5 separate regions of the Homo sapiens genome follow, and regions 1, 2, 3 and 5 are each linked to region 4. Evidence: promoter capture Hi-C in 16 types of primary human blood cells and fetal thymus (Javierre and others, 2016). All regions are on one chromosome and are shown on one strand. Each heading gives the region's core, a stretch centred on a gene start or on the middle of the fragment in contact. The rest is flanking DNA. Distances are from core to core; before and after follow the strand shown.

The links. The method cuts DNA at HindIII sites, captures the fragments that hold promoters and counts their contacts. A CHiCAGO score of 5 or more calls a contact.
Region 1: a contact is called between a fragment that was not itself captured here and the fragment with the promoter of RBBP6 in region 4, in 1 of 17 cell types (neutrophils). The highest score is 5.1, in neutrophils.
Region 2: a fragment that was not itself captured here is called in contact with the fragment with the promoter of RBBP6 in region 4 in 1 of 17 cell types (neutrophils); the score reaches 5.7 in neutrophils.
Region 3: a contact is called between the fragment with the promoter of PRKCB here and the fragment with the promoter of RBBP6 in region 4, in 1 of 17 cell types (M1 macrophages). The highest score is 5.1, in M1 macrophages.
Region 5: a contact is called between the fragment with the promoter of LCMT1 here and the fragment with the promoter of RBBP6 in region 4, in 5 of 17 cell types (naive CD4 T cells, total CD4 T cells, monocytes and 2 more). The highest score is 6.5, in naive CD4 T cells.

Annotation. Positions count from the first base shown.
Region 1 is chr16:25,063,366-25,066,065 of GRCh38, reverse strand. No RefSeq gene overlaps it. Among named protein-coding and RNA genes, the nearest start is that of LINC02175, 2.2 kb to the left of the region's middle. The HindIII fragment of the contact is 7,036 bases long and covers 1-2,700 here.
Region 2 is chr16:23,799,545-23,802,244 of GRCh38, reverse strand. No RefSeq gene overlaps it. Among named protein-coding and RNA genes, the nearest start is that of PRKCB, 35 kb to the left of the region's middle. The HindIII fragment of the contact is 3,056 bases long and covers 1-2,700 here.
Region 3 is chr16:23,834,733-23,837,432 of GRCh38, reverse strand. PRKCB (protein kinase C beta) reads right to left here and starts at 1,450. Exons shown (of 17, transcript NM_002738.7): 1 at 1,085-1,450; 2 at 27-58. The coding sequence starts at 1,257. RefSeq lists enhancers at 345-484, 748-1,293, 1,294-1,841 and silencers at 795-874, 1,205-1,284, 1,315-1,954. The HindIII fragment of the contact is 10,190 bases long and covers 1-2,700 here.
Region 4 is chr16:24,537,996-24,540,887 of GRCh38, reverse strand. It overlaps RBBP6 (RB binding protein 6, ubiquitin ligase), which reads right to left and starts at 1,322. Exons shown (of 18, transcript NM_006910.5): 1 at 96-1,322. The coding sequence starts at 261. RefSeq lists enhancers at 1-664, 665-1,659 and silencers at 876-1,055, 1,326-1,375. The HindIII fragment of the contact is 3,955 bases long and covers 1-2,892 here.
Region 5 is chr16:25,110,484-25,113,269 of GRCh38, reverse strand. It overlaps LCMT1 (leucine carboxyl methyltransferase 1), which reads right to left and starts at 1,528. Exons shown (of 11, transcript NM_016309.3): 1 at 1,274-1,528. The coding sequence starts at 1,386. It overlaps LCMT1-AS1 (LCMT1 antisense RNA 1), which reads left to right and starts at 1,715. Exons shown (of 3, transcript NR_120306.1): 1 at 1,715-1,874. RefSeq lists enhancers at 1,221-1,380, 1,471-1,800, 1,578-2,105. The HindIII fragment of the contact is 2,890 bases long and covers 711-2,786 here.

The sequences.
Region 1 (2,700 bases), core at 147-2,646, 530 kb before region 4:
CTGGGAAACCACCTGGCCGACACGGGCCACACCTGATGGGACCTCACAAGGAGATACAGTCCATTAACGTTCGTCAGGGTGGGAAGAAGTGGCAACACCTACTGAGATAACAAAACTCATTAGCTGAAGGGCAAGCTGGCCAGCAACTGGCAGTGATGTTCTCAATAGTCCTGGCCGCCTTATAAAACCAGCTACTTAGGCCGGGCACGGTGGCTCACTCCTGTAATCCCAGCACTTTGGGAGGCTGAAGTGGGTGGATCACAAGGTCTAGGAGTTCAAGACCAACCTGGCCAGTATGGTGAAACCCCGTCTCTACTAAAAATACAAAAATTAGCCTGGTGTGGTGGTGGGCGCCTGTAGTCCTAGCTACTTGGGAGGCTGGGGCAGGAGAATCGCTTGAACCCGGGAGGAGGAGGTTGCAGTGAGCTGAGATCGCGCCACTGCACTCCAGCCCGGGAGACAGAGCAAGACTCCGTCTCTAAATAAATAAATAAACAAACAAACAAAACCAGCTACTTAGTAAAGGAGCAGCTAGTTAAAGCTAACCAGGGGTCCTCAATCAAGGATGGGCCACACTGTTTGTGATGCCAATCGTTTTATTCACACTCTTTACTCCATTGATGAAAGAGGGATTCCTTCCCCCCACGCTCCTGCCCCCGCCCCTGTCCCCACCCCCAGAGATACGGGGATGGCCGAACACACAACACTTGATGCAGGACGGATGCAATCAACAGCAGCTGACTGGTCACAGATACTCCAGTCCAGGGGAGAAGGACCCTGCACACTATGCAGGGCAATGTGGAGGCTACACTCCGGAACACGGTAACAAGGAGGGGCTGCTGGAGGCAGGCTTTGTAGTAACAAAAGTGCAGAGTGAGCCCTGGTTCCCACGGGAGGGTGTGACTGGCTTGTCTGAATAATTCGTCCTTGAGCTGGCAGGGAACTGAAGCCTACTGTTTGGGGATAAGCAGGCTCTGTGTCTGATCCCTAAAATAAGGAGAGTGTTTAGCCAGAGAATTTCATCTGCGGAAGCAGACAGGGAGCGAGGCTTGGAGTTCAGCCATTTGAGGCCCTCTTGATTTAAATGGATGTAAAGACAGAATTTGATATGAATCCTAATTTCAGGCCTTACACCACAATACACTATTAAAAAGTAAGTTTTCCGAGAACTAGTCATTGAGTTCAGTGTCACAAGATTTTAAATAAACATTCTAAACTCAACTGTGGCATAGTGGTTCACGCCTGTAATCCCAGCACTTTGGGAGGCCAAGATGGGAGGATTGCTTGAGCCAGAGGTTCGAGACCAGCCTGGGTAAGATGGTAAGGCCCTATCTCTACAAAAAAAATATATAAATTAGCCAGGTATGGTGATGAGAGCCTGTGGTCCCAGTTCCATGGGAGGCTGAGGTGGGAGGACCACTTGAGGCTAGGAGGTCAAGGCTGCATTGAGCCATATTCACGCTGCTGGGCTCCAGCCTGGGTGACAGAGTGAGACCTCATCTCAAAAAATAAAGAAAGAAGATAATTTCACCTATTGCTTAACATAGAAAATGGGAGCCCTCAGAATGAGACTCCCTTAACTTCCCCAAGAAACTTAACCATCCTTTTTTACTCTTACAGTTGTGAATGTCCTCCAGTAAAGACCACATGAAACACTTTGTAGTTAAGCAAGTTGGGTTTATTACTTGTTGCAAGGAGGGAAGACTCACACCATGAGGAGCCTATCAGTAAGAGGATGTTAGACCTTTAGGATCTGGGCTTTGGCTGGGTGATTTGGGGGAGGGTCCAGGGGTTTGCTCTGGATCGAGTGCTGATAGGAGGTAGGAAAATTCTATCATCCGGTAGCGGTATCTTTTCTAGAAAGAGGTTTGGCTGGAGTAGGGCTAAAGCTACAATGTGTAAAGAAGCCACAGTCACTCCTATCAGCTGGGAGAAGGGAATGTCTGGTATTCTGTGGGTGGCACAGTGACCTTGCTTTTGTCCTTACACAGAATGATGACGTGGTCTCGTGTCATCTCCTATCATCACCACTGCAGAGTGTCCTTGTGTGAGTGGTCTGCATGATTGTTTATGTCCAATAGGAGAACAACATGGCCTTGTTGTGGGCACCAGCCAGCTTCCAAAAACATACGGCCTGGCTCACAGCACCAGGCAAGCTCCTAGAAGTCAGTTTTGCTTTTCTGTTTTTCACAGTGGAGGAGGTGAGCCTTAAAGAGATCGATAAGGGTTTGCCCGGCAGAAGAAAACAGCGTGAGCAGAGGCATGGAGTCTGCAGTAGAACTGCATGTTAGGTGAACCTGATATAGGGTCAGGAGGGGTAGCAGGAGAGATTTCTGGACAGGCTTTCACACAGTGAATCGTGGAAGCTCCCCCAAATCACCCAGCCAAAGCCCAAATTATAAAGATCTAACATCCTCTTACTGATATGTTCCTCATGGTGTGAGTCTTCCCTCCTTGCAACAAGTAATAAACCAAACTTGCTTGACTACAGAGTGTTTCTGGTGGTCGTTACTGGAGGACATTCACAACTGTAACAGTGAAAAAGGATGGTTAAGTTTCTTGGGGGAAGTTAAGGGAGTCTCATTCTGAGGGCTCCCATTTTCTATGTTAAGCAATAGGTGAAATTATCTTATTTATTTTTTGAGTACAAGTTTTATCCTGAGGGATTTGAAGTGAGGAACTGACATGACCTGGGTTTGC
Region 2 (2,700 bases), core at 74-2,573, 740 kb after region 4:
TTTTTGTTTTTTGTTTTTTGTTTTTTTGTTTTTAATGTGGTCTTTGCTTTGGTAGACCAAACCTACAGACAATCTCTACAGAGGGAACTGCCAGAAAGTCCACCTCCTGGCCAGGCACAGTGGCTCACACCTGTAATCCCAACACTTTGGGAGGCCGAGGTGGGTGGATCATGAGGTCAGGAGTTCGAGACCAGCCTGGCCAACATGGTGAAATCCCGTCTCTACTAAAAAGACAAAAATTAGCCACGTGTGGTGGCAGACGCCTGTAATCCCAGCTGCTTGGGAGGCTGAGGCAGGAGAATCGCTTTAACCCAGGAGACCGAGGTTGCAGTGAGCCAAGATAGCGCCACTGCACTCTAGCCTGGGGGACAGAGCAAGACTCCGTCAGAAAGAAAGAAAGAAAGATAGAAAGAGAGAAAGAGAGAAAGGAAAGAAGGAAAGAAGGGAAGGGAAGGGAAGGGGGGGGGAGGGGAGGGGAGGGAAGACGGGAGGGGAGGGGAGGGGAGGGGAGGGGAGGGGAGGGGAGGGGAGGGAAGGGAAGGGAAGGGAAGGGAAGGGAAGGGAAGGGAAGGGAAGGGAAAAGTCCACCTCCTGCCTTGTGTGTTATTTTCCTGCCTGTGCACGAAAGCCCAGGTCTGCCCCCTGGTGGAAGCCACCAGACAACCTCAAGGAGGAAATTACTGCACTGCCCAGAAGGCGAAATGCCAGTTTCAGAGAGATACATGCCAATGCTTAGCCTAGAGCCTGGCACAGGCTAAGCACTATATACAGGGGTTCGCTCAAAAAAGAAAATAGATAGATCCTGTTCGTTTAAATGCATTGGCCTTAGGGTCACACCTACCTGAGTTCAAATTCCAGCTCTGCTACCTACGAGTTTTGAAACTTTGACATGTGTTTGGGTTTCTTAGGGCTGCCTTAACAAAGTCACACAAACTGGGTGGTTTTTAAAAAATGAGCTGAGCCAGTCGGTCGCTGTGGTTCACGCCTGTAATCCCAGTACTTTGGGAGGCCAAAGCAGGCCAATCACTTGAGATCGGGAGTTCAAAACCAGCCTGGCCAATGTGGAGAAACTTGATCTCTACTAAAAATACAAAAATTAGCCAGGCGTCGTGGAGGGCACCTGGAATCTCAGCTACTTGAGAGGCTGAGGCAGGAGAATCGCTTGAGCCCAGGAGGCAGAGGTGGCAGTGGGCTGAGATTGCACCACTGCACTCCAGCCTGGGCGACAGAGGGAGACCCCATTTCAAAAAAAAAAAAAAGAGCTAGGCACAGTGGCTCACACCTGTAATCCCAGTGCTTTGGGAATTGGAGGCAGGAGGATCACTTGAGCCCAGGAATTCAAGACCAGCCTGGGCAACATAGCAAGACCCTATCTCTACAAAATAAATAAATAAATAAATAATAAAGTATGTTTCAGTTTTGGAGGCAAGAAATCTGAAATCAAGGTGTCGGCCAGGCCATGCCTTCTCTGAAACCTGCAGGGGACTCCTTTGCTTCTTCCCAGTTTCTGGTGGTTTCCAGCAATCTCTCCATGGCTGCAGATGTATCACTCCAATCTTCCATCTTCACATGGCCTTCTTTCTGTGTCTCTTATGACATCTTCCTCCTATGCCTGTCTATTTTGTGTCCACATCGCCCCTTTTTATAAGCACACCAGTTGTATTGGATTATGGCCCACCTTACTCCTGTACAGCCTCATCTTAACTAATTACCTCAATGACTCTATTTCCAAATTAAGCTCACATCTGGGGTACTGGAGGATAAGAAGGACATCAACATATCTTTTTCTGGGCACACAATGCAATTCAACAGCATAGTCTTTCACCTCCTAAGCCTTCATTTAGTCAAGTGTAAAATGAAAATAATTATAGCCAGCTCATAGGATTGAAATTTTCTGACATAGAAAGACATTTGAGGCCAGGCACGGTGGCTCATACCTGTAATCCCAGCACTTTGGGAGGCCAATGCAGGCAGATCATGAGGTCAGGAGTTTGAGACCAGCCTGGTCAACATGGCAAAAGCCAGTCTCTACTAAAAATACAAAAATTAGCAGGGTGCCGTGGTACACACCTGTAGTCCCAGCTACTTGGGAGGCTGAGGCATGAGAACCGCTTGAGCCCAGGAGGCGGAGGTTGCAGTGAGCCAAGATTGCACCACTGCACTCCAGCCTGGAAGACAGAACGAGACTCCGTCTCAAAAAAAAAAAAAAAAAAAAAAAAAAGACATTTGAGATATGTCACTCAGACTAATAGGAAGTTTCAGAGTAAAATACATGCCATGAAATGCCAGTACAGAGTCCATTTCCCAATGTGTTTGGATATGGACAAAAAATTTCTGGAAGGGTATACAAGAAATGTATGAGTGTTATCTCTGGGGAATTGCAGCGGTGAGATTGGAGGGAAAGGGGAGGAAGGGCTTGGTCTTTCCCCTTAGGCCCCTTTGGTTCTGCTTGAATTGCTTTTACAGAGACACATTTTATTTTCATAATTTAATAAAAAGAAAAGGAAATAAACCACAATAACGTCTGCCTCATTGGGTTGTTGTGAGGATGAAATAAATGTGGAATGGAAGCCACGCAGCACAATAAGTGCTTGGTGAGTGGTGACGGTGGGCATTCTCATGGCAATTTTCACTGAAACATCAATTTTAGTAGAGAGAAACTGGAAACAACCTAATTGTCCAACTAATGGAAAAGATTTA
Region 3 (2,700 bases), core at 201-2,700, 700 kb after region 4:
AGCATCCCCAAAGCCCCAGAGCCTACCTTGGCACTGGAATCCCTGCTTCCCGAAGCCCCTGCAAAAGCAGAAGGAGGTGTATGTCAGGCAGCCCGGGGGGCCCAGCCTCCAGCTAGTTACCCACAGAGTCACCCGCCTTCCTCCCTGCCTCTGTACCCCAGGTGCAAACTCCCAGCCACAGGCGGGTGCCCAAGAGTCTTCCGCCTTTGTGGGGGTAGGTGGGAGCTCGGCTGTAACCCCCATCTGCCTTCACTCCTGCAGAAGAGAGGAGGCTGCGACCACCAGGTGGCGGGATAGTGGGGAGCGTTTCCGTCGGGGTAGGGGCTGAAGGCAGGCGACAGATGTACCCATAGATGCCCCGAGCACCCTCGGGAAAAGAGAAGAGATAAAGACGCATTCAGAGGGAGGGCGAGAGTGACCCCGCGGCGGTGGTGTCCTCTGGGAGGGGGACTGGGAAGGAGGAAAGGATGCCCCACTACTGGAGGGACTGGGGAAGAAAGGGGCCCGCAGTGATGTGACCGAGGAGTGGAAAGGGGAACCCAGGCCCTCGGGGAGGGGCAATGGGAGATAACACAGGGCGCTGCCCGGAGGCACAGAGGAGTGAGAAAGGATGTCCCATGCCCGCAGGGAGATAGAGAAGGACACCCAGGGCGCCGCCCCCCCCGGAAACAAGGGGTGGGGGGCGAGGGCTCCTCGCGCCCGGAAGCAGGCGGAGAGATAGGGAACCCCGGGTCGGAGAGCACCCGAGGCGCTGCCCTCCAGGGCAGGCACAGACCCCGCGCGCTCCTAGTCAGGTGGAGCAAAGGCTCCCGCGACGCCGCCCCTGGGCGCTCTAGAGGCGCCTGAGAGCAGGAGAGGGCAGGAGGCGCCCCGCGGCGGCCCGTCTGGGACCAGGGTGGGGACAGGGCAACGGCAGGACTGTCCATCCGGGAGTCCCGGGCAGCAGGGTCCGGAGCCGGGAGTCCGGAGACGCGGGGTCCCAGGGTGCGGAGGGCGCGGAGGGCGCAGAGGGCGCGGAGAGGGGGTCCCTGGCGCGGCGCTGCCCTCGGGGGCCCGGGAAGGTGCCCTGCGCGCGCGCGCTCACCAGATGAAGTCGGTGCAGTGGCTGCAGAAGGTGGGCTGCTTGAAGAAGCGGGCGGTGAATTTGTGGTTCTTGACCTCATGCACGTTCTTCTGCCGGAGGGCGCCTTTGCGGGCGAAGCGCACGGTGCTCTCCTCGCCCTCGCTCGGCGGCGGCCCCGCAGCCGGGTCAGCCATCTTGCGCGCGGGGAGCCGGAGCCCGAGAGGTGCCGGCCCCGGGGCCGCGGGACCGCGGGCTGCGGGCCGGGGAGGCGCGGGAGGCGGCGGCCGCTGCTGCACCCGGGGCCGCGGGCGCTTCCCCTGCGCCGGCTCTGGCGGCCGCGGCGCGCGGAGCCGGGGCTGTCACTCGCCCAGCTGCTGCCGCTCGTCCAGCTGCGCTTGGCACCGCTGGCCCCAGCTGCGGGGGAGGGAGGCGGAGCCCCGGGCCAGCCCCGCCCTCCTCATTTGCATCGCGCCCAGGCCCCGCCCAGCGCTGCCAGCTGCTTTACATATCGGCGCCCGGGCTACCGCGGGCCTCGCGGCTAAGCGTGCACAGCCGCAGCTCTGCAGCGCCGGGACCGCAGCCCGGGGTCGTCGGACCCGAGCCTCGCCCCCCACCCCACCCCGTCCTCGGCCCCCGGGGCTGCGTTCAGGAGATGTGCCCAGGGGAGGAGCGAGAGTGGAAAGACCTACGGGGCGAAGGGGAGCGGGTGGAAGGGGTGGGGCGCAGCGAATTCCACCCCGGCCTCTGCGGAGACTGGTACCCATCCACCCCCATCCATCCCATTGGTCATTCTGCACGCGTCTCCTGGAGGGATGGGCTCCCGCTGTCACTCATTCGGAAAGGCTTGTGGCCGCACACACTTACACACACATACACACACACGTTCTGCAGAGGTAGGGGAGGAGCGATCTTTATTTTATATGTCTCTAACTCCACCACAGAGAAGATTCTTGGCTTTGCTTGCCTCCTGCACGTTTGGAAGAGAACTCCCTACCTTCTGTCCATCCCCTCTGCAAAACGACTCCGTTTCCCCAACTGTAACATAGGGCTAATAGTGTGGGGAGGAAGGATTTCAGTAGATCAATATTTTTCCAAATTTCATTCATTTCTGACTCGTCTTCACAAATTCTGGTCGTATTTGTGCACCCTCTGGGGGAAAAAAAGCCTATCTCTTTTGGTCTGAGTTTGAACAGCAAGAGGTATCTACATTATTAAAATATCTCCAGGTGCCGTCATCTGTCCTAAGCATCTTCGACTGAAGTCATCTTTTATTTGTTAAGAGAGGAAATTAATAAATGCTAGAGGGGTGTTAAAGACATTACTATCCAACCAGGACTCTCTCCTTGATGTGATCTGAAGGTAACTGAAAGGGTAATAATTGTCTACAATGTGTAATTCAATGTTATTTAGCGCCCTGTTCATGCACAAGGCCTAAAGATACCCACTGCCACCATGTCCCCCACTCTGGGAACGCAGAGCTTCATTAGGCTGTGAGCTCCTTCACCAGACCTAGGCTCTGTGAGAGCAGGGGGGCTGTTCACCACCATGTCGCCCAGCACCAAGCTCAGTGCCTGACACCTCCCAAGACCCCAGTAAATATTGGTTGATTGAGTGAGGGCATGGATGAACAAGTGAAT
Region 4 (2,892 bases), core at 73-2,572:
ACTAGAGACATAATGGCGGTTAGCTTCCTGCCAGGCACCTTCTAGCTAGTATCTCTCTCCAGCCACCAAATATCTTAAGACCAAGCGGCCCTTACCTTCTTTCGTCTGCGCATTGGTGATCTGCAGGTCGCAGTCGGCAGCTTTCAGCTTCTCTCTCCCCATAATCTGCTTCTTTAAGTCGCAGAGGGAGATGTGGAGCCCATCAAAGGTGACGGTATCATAGTTGAGTTTAGAGGAAAATTTATAATGCACACAGGACATGGTGCCAAGGGATTCCTAAGGTTCAGCGAGGAGACGTGGACACTCTCAATATACGTATATTTATAAACTTTAAGAGCAAAATATGTACACACAAAACACTCAAAGACACCGAAGGACCCTAAGGCCTCAGATTAAATACCCCCCAACCACAAGCAGGGGTTCGTCAGAACAATAATCCAGAGACCCCCCGATACTCAGAATCACTTCATGGGGGAGGAGGAGGACGAGGACGGGGAAGAGGGGAAATCGAGAATCCGCCAACGGGCACAATGTCACCCGGCTGGGTCCCCCTCGCTCATGCTAAGGGGCCGGCAGAGACGGGGGGATTGGCGGTGCAGTCAGTAGCGGTCAGTCCACACGTTAAGAGTCCGAGCGACCCCACGGGGTCAGGGGTCCATAGCGCGGCCGCACCTCCCGGCGGGTCTCTCTCTCCGTGGATTGGGGTGACCCAGGCCCCGGGAGAAGGTTGAGGGGAGAGGGCCTAGGCCCGGAGTCCACGAGCGGCCTCACGCCTCCTCCTGGCTTCCGGACGACCGGCGTCAGCTTCCCCAGGCCCAGGCCCAGGCCCCCACCGCACACAAACCCCTGGCGCCTGCTCCCCGGAGGCCACGAGCGGCCCCACGGCCTAGGCCGAAAACGCGCGGTCGGCGGAGGAGAGGCCTTCCCGCAGGCCGCCCCCGGCTCCGCCTCCCCCCGCCGCCGCCGCCGCCTCGGACACAAAGCCGGCGCTAGGCCTCGGCGAGGCCTCGGAGCACTTCCTCACCACCCCGGGCCCCAGCCGGCGGCCGGGTGGCTTCGGCGGACCCCGGGGACACCGCCGAGGCTCCCTGACGCTTCTTCTCGCCGGATCCTCCGCGCTTCGCTCGCCTTTCGTTTCCGTCGCCTTGAGGCCCGGAACCGCGAGAACACGCCCGCAAGCTGCTGGGCAGCGGCTAGGGCTTCTCCGGCTCCCTTTTTGTGTTGGCCCCCTGCCGCTCGGGGGCTCTCACCGAGCGGCGGCGACACCTCCAAGCCAGGTACTATGGCGGACGCGGCCTGGCTTCGGACGAGCGCCCCACTGCGGGGTCTCTTAAGCAGGGATTGCACGGGCGGCGCGCGCGAGGCGGGGCTGGCGTGCGCGGATAGGCGGGCCGAGAGGCGGGGCGGCTGACGTCACAAAGCGCACGGCCCGCCCACGTGACCCCGCGCTTTGTGACTCCAAAGCGCGGAAACTGAAAGAGCAGGGACAACGGGAAGAACCATCTGCTTCAAAAGGGAGGGGGGTTGCGCGTCAGGAGGACCGGCTCACAGGGAGGCTCGGTGGGGAGAGCTCGCCTTGCAGGGGCTGCGTGCAGTTTCCACTGCAAAGTGGCTTGCCTAGGGGTGGCCGGCTAACTCCCCCTTCCCCACAGGCCCCGTCAGCTCCTCTAAGCCTCCCAATTTAAGTGAGCATTATGGTTGCTACGCAGAAAACTATGGTTGCTATGCAAGCGCTCCCTAGCTGCTGCTTCCAATAAACTGGCTACCCTATACTCTTGACAAGTGGAAATCGTGGAGCAGCCGCTGCCAAGAACTGATAACAGCCACCAGCACCATACAGATTTATTGAGCTCTTACTATGTGCTAGGCACAGGGCTGATCGCATAACAACATTGCCAGGCTCAGCAGCCACGTTGTCTGGGTTGGATCCCTGGCTGTGGGGGCTCTAGATTTAACCCCTCTGTGCCTGGGTCTCCTTGGCTGTAAAATGCCATTAAAAATAGTACTTGGTTTACTTGGATTAAATAAATGCACATAAATCCATAGTCTAAGACCATGCCGGTGCATTGACGTGGCTCAATGCACCGAAATATTAATAGCTGTAGCTCAATAAATGTCAATTTAACAACAAAAACCCTACGTGGTCAACATGACATTATTTCCGATTTATAGATGATGGAACTGAAGCTAGCAATCATGTACTTTCTGAATTTGCAGAAGGGGATGCCTGCTCAGTGGCAGGGTCCCGATTCCATTCCTAAGCGCAAATGCCAGGAACAGTGACAAGAACCCCCTCAGTAGATTGGAATTTTTTTTTTCCTTTGGGCATGGGGACGTTATTACATTCAGAAAAAATCATAATATAATAAAATTACATTCATAAACGATAGTTATTATCGTTTACAATCCATGTTCCTCATCCTCTCTGAATTTTACAGGCTAGGCTCAGTGAATTTAGGCAACTGAGAATAAGATCCTATAGCCGAGAAGTAGCAGAGTTTCCCAGGGACTTCCTGCAAGCACACTCCAAATTCTTACTGAACTTGATTTAAAATTAATCACCATCCTGCCAGAAAAGCCTTCCTAAGGCCATCTTTTTAAAATAAGATGGCGATCTTTCTCTATCCCTTTAGTCTTTTCTTCCTAGCACTTGCAGATAGTTGACAGTTACACATTTACTTTTTAATTATCTATCTCCCCCAACCCCTACCTTCGGCTGACAATAGGAATCTTATCTTTATATTTGTTTTTGCTGTATCCTCAGCTCTTAGAACATAGTAGGTGCTCAATAAATACGTGCTGAATAACTGGATACATTTTTACGTGATCCATAGAGATGTCGTGGCAATAAAATTTTGGCCGTAGTCAAGGGCAGCTCTAGAGATACCATTA
Region 5 (2,786 bases), core at 279-2,778, 570 kb before region 4:
TCAGCCTCCTTCTCCCACCTTTAAAGCATTTTTTGAGTTCCTCTAACAGTTCACACTCCTCTGAACACTCTCCTACAACTTTCCTATTTTTCAAGCCTTTTCTTCTCACTTTTTTTTTTTTTTTTTTTTGAGACATAGTCTCGCACTCTCATCCAGGTTGGAGTGCAATAGCGTGATCTTGGCTCACTGCAACCTCTGCCTCCCGGGTTCAAATGATTCTCCGGCCTCAGCCTCCCGAGTAGCTGGGATTACAGGCGCCCGCCACCACACCCAGCTAATATTTGTATTTTTAGTAGAGATGGGGTTTCACCATGTTGGCCAGGATGGTCTCGAACTCCTGACCTCGTGATCTGCCCACCTCGGCCTCCCAAAGTGCTGGGATTACAGGCGTGAACCACCGCGCCCAAACTCTTCTCACCTTAAACATCACTGACAAAATTACAAACTCTAATGGCACTGCCGTATTTGTCAGCACTCAACACAAAAAAATCATAATTATATATTTCATAGGTAATTATTTGCTTCCTGTCTCTCTTTTCCAACAAAGCTGTGAGTTCCAGTATGTCTGACACCATGTCTGTCTTGTTCTTGGTGTATTTCCACCATCGAATTCCTACTAACCACTGCAAAGTAAAGGCCTGGCACAAAGTAAGGTCTCAAAAAATTTTGTTGAATGAAAGAATAAATGGTGGACATTCAAGCCTCAAGCTTTCTCTTTCTCTGACACGTACCTCTGCTGGCTACGCCCCCATCCCCACCACCACACCCTTAACAGTGGAGACTTAGTGCGGTACTGGCTCTGCAAAGAGATATTACTTGGCTCTGGGTGGGTTATTTCCCCTCGTCATCCTGAGTTTCAGGTGCACAACAGGGATCACACCAACCCCCTAAAGAATGCAACCTACAAAAGAGAGAGAACCTACACCTCTCATCCTCGTAACCCATCGAGGCTGGAGCTACTATTTGCTTCATGTCTGTCTTTCCAGCAGCGTTTAGCTCCAAGAAGCCCAAGGCCTCGTCTGTCTGGCTCAGGGGCCTGCTCCCATCGACGATACCCAGGCTGGCCCCCTGCCTGGCTCACAGCAAAAGCTCAGAAACGATTCGTTAAATAAATGAAGCCCTGCTCCGTGCACTTCACAGGTGGGAAGCGAGGGTCGTGCGAGGCGGGGGCTGCATCCCTGCCAGCCTTGAGCGTATTCTTCAGATGCAGGCCCACCTCCCACCTAGGCCCGCGCCCCAGATGCCGGCCCCGAACCCCGCGCCCGACAGGCACCTCTTGCACAGGGAAGCATCTTCGCAGGTGCCGCGCACGCCCTCGTCGTCTGCGTCGCAGCTCGAGGTGGAACAGCAGGAGGTGATAGAGGATTCCCTCTGCCTAGTGGCCATGGGCGTGGAGGTTCCTGGGAGCTGTGTCCGCCAGGGACATGGAAGCGGGGTCGACGGGCGGCGGGGGACGGCGCGAGCCACAGGGAGAAAGCAACAGAAGAGGGTAGGGCCCTACCTGGCTCAGCTGGCGCGGCTCAGTGACGCCGCCCACGCCGGCTACCCCAGCAACCTCTCCGCTTATTGGCTCCTCTTCCGAGTCGCTCATTGAGCAATTCTCCTGCCCGCTCAGCCTACGAAGTTGCTCATTGGATAATTATTTTGGCACCGCCCACATAACCCGGAAATTTGACGATAGGAAAAAGAAACTAAACAGTAGGAGAGTATCGCAATCCTTTCTGGGAAGCGTAGTCTTAGGTGTCTGGAGAAGTCGCCCGGTTTCTGCTTGCTGGTCGCGAAATTTTATAGCTATAATTAACTCAGGGCGGAACAGCTAGCAGAATCCTCAGCGTTCGGGCAAAGGGCAGAGAATCCAGCCAGAAGCAACATGTGTAAGTTGTTACATTCAGTCCGGGCTCAGTGTCATTCAATTTTACAAAATTTTGTTGTGTGCTGACTCTGCCAGCGACTGTGCTGAGGGCTTTGCCCCCAAAATTGCCTTCGAAATGTAGTGAGGGGGGCGGGCGTAGTGGCTCACTCCTGTAATCCCACCACTGTGGGAAGCCGAGGCGGGCCGATCACCTGAGGTCAGGAGTTCGAGACCAGCCTGGCCAACATGGTGAAACACCGTTGTTACTAAAAGTACAAAAATTAGCCGGGCGTGGTGGCGGCCGCCTTAGTCCTGGCTACTCAGGAGGCTGAGGCAGGAGAATCGCTTGAACCCGGGAGGCGGAGGTTGCAGTAAGCCCATGTGGCGCCACTGCATTCCGTCCTGAGCGACAGAGCGAGACTCCGTCTCAAAAAAATAAATAAACAAATAAATAAAAGAAAGAAAGAAAAGAAATGTAGTGAGGGAAGTAGTGTGTGGAAAAGTAATACAATAGGAAGCCATGTAGCAGCGATCATAAATGAACTAGAGCTACCAGGTAGCAGCATCAATGGCTGAATCTCAGAAACACGATGTTCAGTGAAAGAAGGAAGTCTAACAACACTTTTGTAAAGTTCAAACCAAGTAAAACTAATGTTGTTTAGAGAAACGTACATATATGGTAAAATACTGTACAGAGAAGGCAAGACATGAGAAAAAAAAATAAAAAAGAATCAGGATATTGGTGATCTTTAGGGAGCCGGGAGGGTAGCACACAAGAGGGGGAGGGAGAGGCAGGGAAGGAGCACATAGACACATCCTCAGTTTCTCACGTGGGAGTGGGTTCACGTGTGTCTGTTTCATTATGAGGCATATTCAAGATGTTTTGGATTTATTTTGTACTAAATCTAGTACAAAATATATGTATAAATTCAAG